Regions from separate parts of the Homo sapiens genome. Here regions 1 and 3 are each linked to region 2. The links are contacts of gene promoters, found by promoter capture Hi-C in human tissues and cell types (Jung and others, 2019). All regions are on one chromosome and are shown on one strand. The core of a region is centred on a gene start or on the middle of the fragment in contact, and the rest is flanking DNA. Distances in the headings are between cores, read along the strand shown.

Region 1 (2,700 bases), core at 97-2,596, 600 kb before region 2:
CCAAGTAGCTGGGATTACAGGGGCCCGCCACCATGCCTGGCTAATTTTTGTACTTTTAGTAGAGACGGGGTTTTGCCATGTTGGCCAGGCTGGTCACGAACTCCTGACCTCAAGTGATCCACCTGCCTCAACCTCCCAAAGTGCTGGGATTACAGGCATGAGCCACCGCACCCAGCCTGAATGACTCTATTTTAGAGCATTTTTATTCCCTATAATATTGGTGATTGTAGTACCTACCTTTTATCTTCCTGTCTTTATAGAGGGTTGGTTGTTACGCAATACTTTATTTTTTATTATTAAGCCCAATCAATGTTTAATTTCATTTAAAATTTGTTTAACTGTGGTAAAATCACATAACGTAAAATTTCCCATCTTAACCATTTTTAAGCATCCAGTTCAATGACATTAAATCCCTCCTTTTTTTTTTTTTGAGACGGAGTCTTGCTCTGTCGCCAGGCTGGAGTGCAGTGGCACAATCTCCACTCACTGCAACCTCTGCCTCTGGATTGAAGCTATTCCCCTGCCTCAGCCTCCCAAGTAGCTGGGACTACAAGCACACACCACCATGCCAGGCTAATTTTTTGTATTTTAGTAGAGACAGGGTTTCACCATGTTGGCCAGAATGGTCTCGATCTCCTGACCTCGTGATCTGCCCGCCTCGGCCTCCCAAAGTGCTGGGGTTACAGGCGTGAGCCACCGTGCCCAGCCCATAATGCCTTCATGTTGTTGTACAACCTTCAGCACCATCCATCTCCAGAACTCTTTGTCCTGCAACACTGAAACCCTGTACCCAGTAAGCAGTTACTGCTCCTTCTCCCCTACCTCACAGGCAACCCCCCATTCTACTTTCTGTCTCTATGAATTTGACCACTCTGGGTACCTCATATAAGGGGGATCATATTGTGTTTGTCCTTTTGTGACTGGCTTATTTCACATAATGTAACAGCTTCAAGGTGCATCTGTATCGTAGCATGTGTCAACATTTCTTTCATTTTCAAGGCTGAATAATATTCCGTTGTCTGTATTTACTGCCCTTTATGTATCCATTCACCTGTCAATGGACACTTGGGTTGCTTCTACCTTTTGCCTGCTGCCATGAACTTGGGCTTACAAATAATTCTGAGTCCCTGCTTTCAGTTATTTTGGGTATATACTTAGAAGTGAAATTGCTGGATCAGACAGTTATTCTATTTTTTAATATTTAATTTTTGTGGGTACATAGGACTTGTATATATTGATGGGTTATGTGAGATATTTTGATATAGGCATGCAGTGTGTAATAATCACATTGGTGATTATTATAAATGGGGTGTCTGTTACCTCAAGTATTTGTCCTTTGTGTTACAATCTAATTATATTTTTAGTTATTTTTAAATGTACAATTATTTTTTACTAGTCACCCTGTTGTGTTAGCAAATACTAGATCTTATTCATTCTTTCTATTTTTTTGTACCCATGGTTATTCTATTTTTAATTTTCTGAGGAATCATTATACTGTTTTCCACAGTGCTGTACCATTTTACGTATTCCCACCAGCAGCGCACAAAGGTTTTGATTTCTCGGCATGCTCACCAACACTTGTTATTTTCTGGGGTTTTTGGCAGTTGCCATCCTAATGGGTGAGAGGTGGTGTCTTGTGGTGGTTTTGGTTTGTGTTTCCCTAATGATTAGCAATGTTGAGCATCTTTTCATGTGCTTACCGGCCATTTGTATATCTTCTTTGGAGAAATGTCTATTTAAGTCCTTCACCCATTTTAAAAATCAGGTTATTTGTGGCCTAGCGTGGTGGCACACGCCTGTAATCCCAGCACTTTGGGAGGCCGAGGCAGGCAGATCACGACGTCAAGAGATCGAGACCATCCTGGCCAACATGGTGAAACCCCGTCTCTACTAAAAATACAAAAATTAGCTGGGCGTGGTGGTGTGCACCCGTAGTCCCAGCTACTTGGGAGGTTGAGGCAGGAGAATCACTTGAACCCGGGAGGTGGAGGTTGCAGTGAGCGGAGATTGTGCCACTGCACTCCAGCCTGGCGACAGAGTGAGACTCCATCTAAAGAAAAAGAAAATCAGGTTATTTGTTTTTTGAATTGTTGAGTTGTAGGAGTTCTTGATATGTTCTGTATATTAATCGCCCATCAGATATAAAAACGAGACTTTTAAGAATTGCATTGGCCGGGTGCAGTGGCTCACGCCTGTAATCCCAGCACTTTGGGAGGCCAAGGTGGGCGGATCACGAGGTCAGGAGATTGAGACCATCCTGGCTAACACGATGAAACCCTGTCTTTACTAAAAATACAAAAAATTAGCCAGGTGTGGTGGCGGACGCCTGTAGTCCCAGCTACTAGGGAAGCTGAGGCAGGAGAACGGCGTGAACCTGGGAGGTGGAGCTTGCAGTGAGCCAAGATCACGCCACTGCACTCCAGCCTGGGCGACAGAGCGAGACTCCGTCTCAAAAAAAAAAAAAAAAAAGAAAGAAGAATTGCATTGCAGCCAGGTGCAGTGTCTGATGCCTGTAATCCCAGCACTATGGGAGGCTGAAGCGGAGGGATGGCTTGAGTCCAGGAGTTTGAGACCAGCATGGGCAATATGGTGAAACCCTGTCTCTACAAAAAATACAAAAATTAGCTGGGTGTGCTGGCACCTGCAGTCCCAGCTACTTGTGAGGCTGAAGTGGGAGGATTACTTGAGGCCAGGAGATCA
Region 2 (2,700 bases), core at 135-2,634:
TGACTGTCAATCATATACTCCCAGTTATCTTTACTATCGCCCAAATTGCATCCATTTAAAATACTACTTATCTGTGGGTGTCTATTTTCTCAACCGAACCGCAAACTCCTTGAAGAAAAGGGCCGTGCCTCATGTTTTGCGTTGCCTGACTGCAACACAATCAGTGTTCTTTGAAGAGGGCTTCCAAGAACACTGAATTTGATGTCATGTTTTGGCAACAGCTCACACATACACAAGAAATGCGCAGCTTAATACGATAGCCACTATGGGACCAGCGAGCACTTGAAAGGTGGCTGGTGCGGACTGAGGTGTGCTGTTAAGTGTAAGACACACGACAAATCTGAAAGGCTTTGCATGAAAAAAAAAATTTCAAATATCTTACCAATAATTTAATATTGATTATATGTTGTAATAACATTTTGGATATCCTGGGTTAAATCAAATATATTAAAATTAATTTAACCTGTTTTATTATTTTAAAGTGGTTACCAGAACATGTACAATTACATATGTGGTTTGCTTTCTATTTCTGCCCACCAGAATTGGTGGGAGGAATGGAAAGCTGCCCTTGGGGGTCTTTATTCATCCAATCAGAGCTATTCTCTGAGCACTCCTTAGGCACTTGTTAATGCAGTAAGACATTTAAAAAGATCCCTTGGGGCTCCCGCCTGTGATCCCAGTACTTAGGGAGGCCTCCGCGGGCAGACCGCTGGAGCTCACGAGTTCGAGATCAGCCCGGGCAACAGAGGGAGAACCCCGCCCCCTCCACCTCCAAAAAAAAAAAAAAATTTCCCTGGGGGACAGACACCCCAAGGCCCTCAGACGGTTGCATCTCTCTGGTGCCAGTCGCCAGGATGTGGCCATTCCGCGAACCGGCGCGGGTGGTCAAAACGCAGAGGCCTGCGGTGCCCAGCGCCGCCTGGAGGAGACAGCAGGAGGGAGAGACAGCCAGGCAGCCCGGGGTGCGAGGGAGAGGCAGCGGCCTAGGCAGGCGGTCCCTGCGCAGGCCCCGGCCCAGAGCCGGCGGCGACGGAGGCCGCGGGGCGCAGGCGGGCAGGGGCCTGGCTGAAGGGGCACGCGCGTTCCGGGGTGAAGAGCGCAGGGGTGCCGGGCCGCGCCAGCGAGCGCACGTGCGCTGCCATGGCAACAGTGTCCCCTCCGCCCGCAGCCGCGGCGCCGGGAAGGACGCCCTCCCCGAACTCTGAACCCGGCCCCTCACCTCTCCCCGCCGCGTCCGCAGCCCTGAGAGGCCGCCCGGCTGCATCCTGAGACCCCGCCCCGACCCTCGCGCGCCCCCACTCCTGCCCCCTCTCCAGGCTCGGGGTCGTCCCTACTCCTCACCTGGCCTTGCTGCTCTCAGCGCCCACTGCTCCTAGGCGCGGACAGGCCCCGCCCCGCCCGCCGCGCGCGCTGAGGCAGCCGCTCGCCCGCTGATTGGCCGGCCCGCGGCCTGGCTACCGCTCCGCCCACGATCTGCGCCTGAAGGCCGCTGATTGGGTATCTGGGAGCCGCTCCTCCCCTCTGATTGATCGCTGTTGGCGGCTTGCCCTGTTGTCGGGCTCGAGTCCCCCGATTGGCCCTGTTGAGGCCACGGTCATCTCCGATTGGTACAGCTCCGAGACCCCGAGTCCTGATTGGAGGTCGAAGACAGTGCGTGCTGCTCGGCCCCACTCATCCAGTCACAAAGGGCTGGGGCGGTCGCCGCGCTCGCGTGTTTGCGGAGTGCGCCTGGAGGGGGCGCTGGAGTATGTGTGTGCCGGGGCGGGGTGGCTTCCGGGCACGAGTTGCTGACAGCGCCTCGCGGTTGATAAATCCTGAGGGCGGCGGCTACCCTGCACTCCATCGGTGCCTTTGGGAAGCGCCGCCTTCTCTGTTGTACCCGGCCGTGGGTCAGGTCGGCGCGGCTGGCGGTGGAGTCTCGGACACCGAGCCCTGGACCCCGACTCTGGAAGCCCCCAGCCCCACTGGGCCGCGGCAGGGCGCCCACCCTCCACAATCTCAGTTCCCAGCCGGGGAGTGAGGGGCTGGGCGGGTCTCTCCACCGCTTTGGAGACCTCAGGACTTGGATACGCTTTTGAGTGGTCCCAGTCGTCCTGATCCACGAAGGCGTGGAGTGGAAGTCAGGACCAGGGGTCGCCCCAGTGACGCAGGAAGTCAAGCCCAGATGCGGTGAGGCGTCGCCAGCCTTGGACCCAGCAGTGGGCGCTGGTGACAGTGGCGACCTCGCCGATGAGAGGTTCGCCCTCCCTAGCATTAGTTGTCACTTTGGTGAAATGGAGCGTGGGTGGCAGCTCCTCCACACACAAGCCCTTTGCTGAGGTGGTGCGGGGGGTTCTCTCCACGCTTGCTAAGGGCAGGTAGTTGGCTGACTTTGAACTATGAAGAAAAGCCAGAAACAAAATGGCAGAATGGTATGACTCTGGGTGGGCTTAGGGACGCTGGTGCCAGAGGACTTGGCTTGAACCCGCTCCAACACTTACAACCTGAGTGACCGTGAGAAAGAACTGTAACTCCTCTAAACTTCAAGTTCCTCACTTCTCAAATAAGAACGTGAATAGTACCTCCCTCCTAGAGTTGTGAGGATTGAGTTAGAAAATGCTAGCAATTGTTATGCCCTAAGGAACAGCACAAGATACAATAACACGTGATAATGTGTGTCGAAGGTGCAGAAATGCAGTCGCTGCCGTGAGAATTTCTCAT
Region 3 (2,700 bases), core at 200-2,699, 660 kb after region 2:
GGCAGTGCAACCCACCTCACTGCAAACTGACTGTAAATAACTGCTACACATTTCTCTACACAGACTCATCCACACCCACTTATCCCATGACCAGCATCTCTCAGTCCCACACCCAAGGAATGCCTAATCACCTCTCAGGCCCTCGTCCTCCCTGTCACAGAGGAGAGAGCCACAAAACCTGCTTCCAGCTAACCAGAAATTGATCCCTGAACGGGAAACACAATCTACATAACATGGGTCAAGACCAAAAGAATCTTTGGTTGAATGTACATATGTGGGCACACAAAAACACAGGCAGGCACGCACACACTCCATTACCTCTACAACAAGATACAATGATTTTTTTTTTTTTTTTAAAGTTTTGCTAGGTCTGAAGGGGAAGCAAATCCCATTCTTCCATTTTTGCCTGCAATGTTGCCCAAAGGACCTATATCCTGATGACCATTTTGATATGCAAGACAAAACAGGTGGCTCCCAGTGAATGTGACAAGTTTAAGGCCTTGTTCTGAGACATTTTCCTGTCCAGGCCTATCTAACGCCCGACGTCTTTAAGGTTCCAAGAAAGCCTGAACGCACCGCCTGGCCATGCACCTAATAAACCCTTTCAGCCAAACAGTGCGGCCAGCACAGAGGCAGCAAACACCAGTCACGAGAATGATGATGATTTATCTTGCGCGGAGAGGTAGGAGGATATAGTTTACAACCTGGTGACTGAGACGACCTGGAGCCTCAGGAATTGGCTCCTCATCGCTGCCGACAATAACCCGGGGTGGGGATTTGGGGGAGTGCAGCAGGGGAACACTGCTGGATCCAGATTCCCGGCACCGGGCAACAAAGTTCCATAAGGTCGTCAACCCCGGCGATCGGCCTATATTATTCTTCCTGCTCCAAACACCTGTCTTGCTTAGTGGCTCTCTTCTTACACGTTTGGCCAAGGCCCCTTCTGTGCCTGGACCTCCCCAGAACTGCGGGACCCTCAAAGGCCCGGTTGTCGCCCACACCCTTCCCGTCCCCGGTGAGTCTCTCTCCCTCGCCAGAGCAGGCGTGGGGAGCCAGGTTGCGTACCCGGTTCTCCAGCTCCGCAGGGAACTTGGTCTGGAACTGGCAGCGTGTGCCACTGCTGTAGTCTCGCTGAATGAACACCTTTCCGGACACCGGCGCCTGCTGCGGCCTCATGGCGAGGACAGGACACCCCGCGCTGCGGGGTCGGGGGAACACCAACCGCGAGTCAGAGCCCCGGCCTGGACCCGGGACTCTGACCCGCCAGCCCCTCGCCCCCACCCGCCGCCGAAAACAGCCCAAGGCCTCCTCTGCCCCGCTCCCCTTCACCCATGCTGTCACCGCGGGCCTTAGCTGCCGCCTGGCCCAGGCCCCGCGCCCCCCACAACCCGGTTCGGCCCGGGAAACACAAACCCGCCTCCTCTGCCCTCCAGCTGCTGTCGCACCGCCTTCGCCGTCACTTACGTCCTGCCGCAAAAAGCCTCTTCCCCGCCCCTCAGCTCGGCCTCCTACCTCAGGTCTGGGACCCACCCTCTCCTCCGGCCGTAAAGCCACCCTGCCGAAGCTGCGCGCTGTGGGGCTGGGCCGAGGAAGGGAAATGATGTGGGCGGGGCCAGGGCCGACCCCGCCTTCCGCCCGCGCGGGGATTGTTTCCGGAAGGAGAGAGGCGGGGCGAGCTGTGGGGCTGCGGCCGGGGCGAGCTGTGGGGCTGCGGCCGGCGCGAGCGCGCGGGGGTGTGAGGGGCGGAGTTTCCCGGCTGTGTCACTTCCCTAGTGATTGTGGCAGGTGGTTCCCGATCACTGATTGTGAGGGGTCATTTTCGTTCTTGATTGGACGTCGCAGCTTACGTGTGGGTTATGCCACCCAACTCATACACAAAACAAAAAACAAAACATAAAGAAAAAACAACACCCCCTCCCCAAACCCTCAAACACAAACTGCTCATTGTGTTCAGAAGTAGAAAGCAGGCTCCAAGGATGGATCCATTTGGTCCCTAGACTCTTGAGAAAGGGTCAGGAAGTGAGGACGAAGAACCTGCCTGGGCCCCAGCGTTGGGCGCCCCTGCCCCGACTCTTCTTTGGGGGCGGCGTTCCTCTCACCCCCCATTTCCACCCAGCTCCCATCCACATCCCTCAGGTGACCAAGGGGACAAGTGGTTCCGCCCTCGTTGCCCACTGGCCCTTACTTGACTCAGCATTTCTTTGCAAGGCAGCCAAAGAAACCCCACCTTACCCTTGTCTCCTGCTAATACAACCTGTTAGTACCACTGTCTTTTATATATTTAATATAGTTTAAATATCCTGCCTTTTAAATATGAAAAATTCTCTTACTGTATTTTAAAAACAGCTTTTTCGAGATATAAATGGCATACAATAAACCACACATTTAAAGCAGTGGATTTGATAACTTTGGACATATGAATACACCCATAAACCACTGTCACAATCAAGATAGTAAAGCTCCATTGCCCTGAAAAGGTTCCTCCAGCTCCTGTGTAATCTCTCCCTCCTGCCTCTCCCAGACCCCATTTCCCAGGCACTGATCCACCTTCTGTCACTCAACATTAGTTTCATTTCCTTGAATTTTATATAAATTGAATCATATAGTGTGTACCCCCTTTTTTTGCCTGGCTTCTTTCACATAGACTATTTTGAAGTCCATCTGTTGTTGTGTTATCAATAATTCATTTATTTTTGATGC

The links. Contacts are between HindIII fragments. The study calls those that stand out against the background at their distance.
Region 1: a contact is called between a fragment that was not itself captured here and the fragment with the promoter of AP3M2 in region 2, in 1 of the 25 tissues and cell types used here (aorta).
Region 3: the fragment with the promoter of GOLGA7 here is called in contact with the fragment with the promoter of AP3M2 in region 2 in 1 of the 25 tissues and cell types used here (hippocampus).

What each region holds. Positions count from the first base shown.
Region 1 is chr8:42,747,978-42,750,677 of GRCh38, reverse strand. No RefSeq gene overlaps it. Among named protein-coding and RNA genes, the nearest start is that of CHRNA6, 19 kb to the left of the region's middle. The HindIII fragment of the contact is 4,793 bases long and covers 1-2,700 here.
Region 2 is chr8:42,151,747-42,154,446 of GRCh38, reverse strand. AP3M2 (adaptor related protein complex 3 subunit mu 2) reads right to left here and starts at 1,384. Exons shown (of 9, transcript NM_006803.4): 1 at 1,342-1,384. RefSeq lists a silencer at 869-1,478 and an enhancer at 2,309-2,428. The HindIII fragment of the contact is 9,480 bases long and covers 1-2,700 here.
Region 3 is chr8:41,489,331-41,492,030 of GRCh38, reverse strand. GOLGA7 (golgin A7) reads right to left here and starts at 1,449. Exons shown (of 5, transcript NM_001002296.2): 1 at 1,066-1,449. The coding sequence starts at 1,176. RefSeq lists enhancers at 819-928, 979-1,088, 1,379-1,508 and a silencer at 1,559-1,818. The HindIII fragment of the contact is 13,455 bases long and covers 1-2,700 here.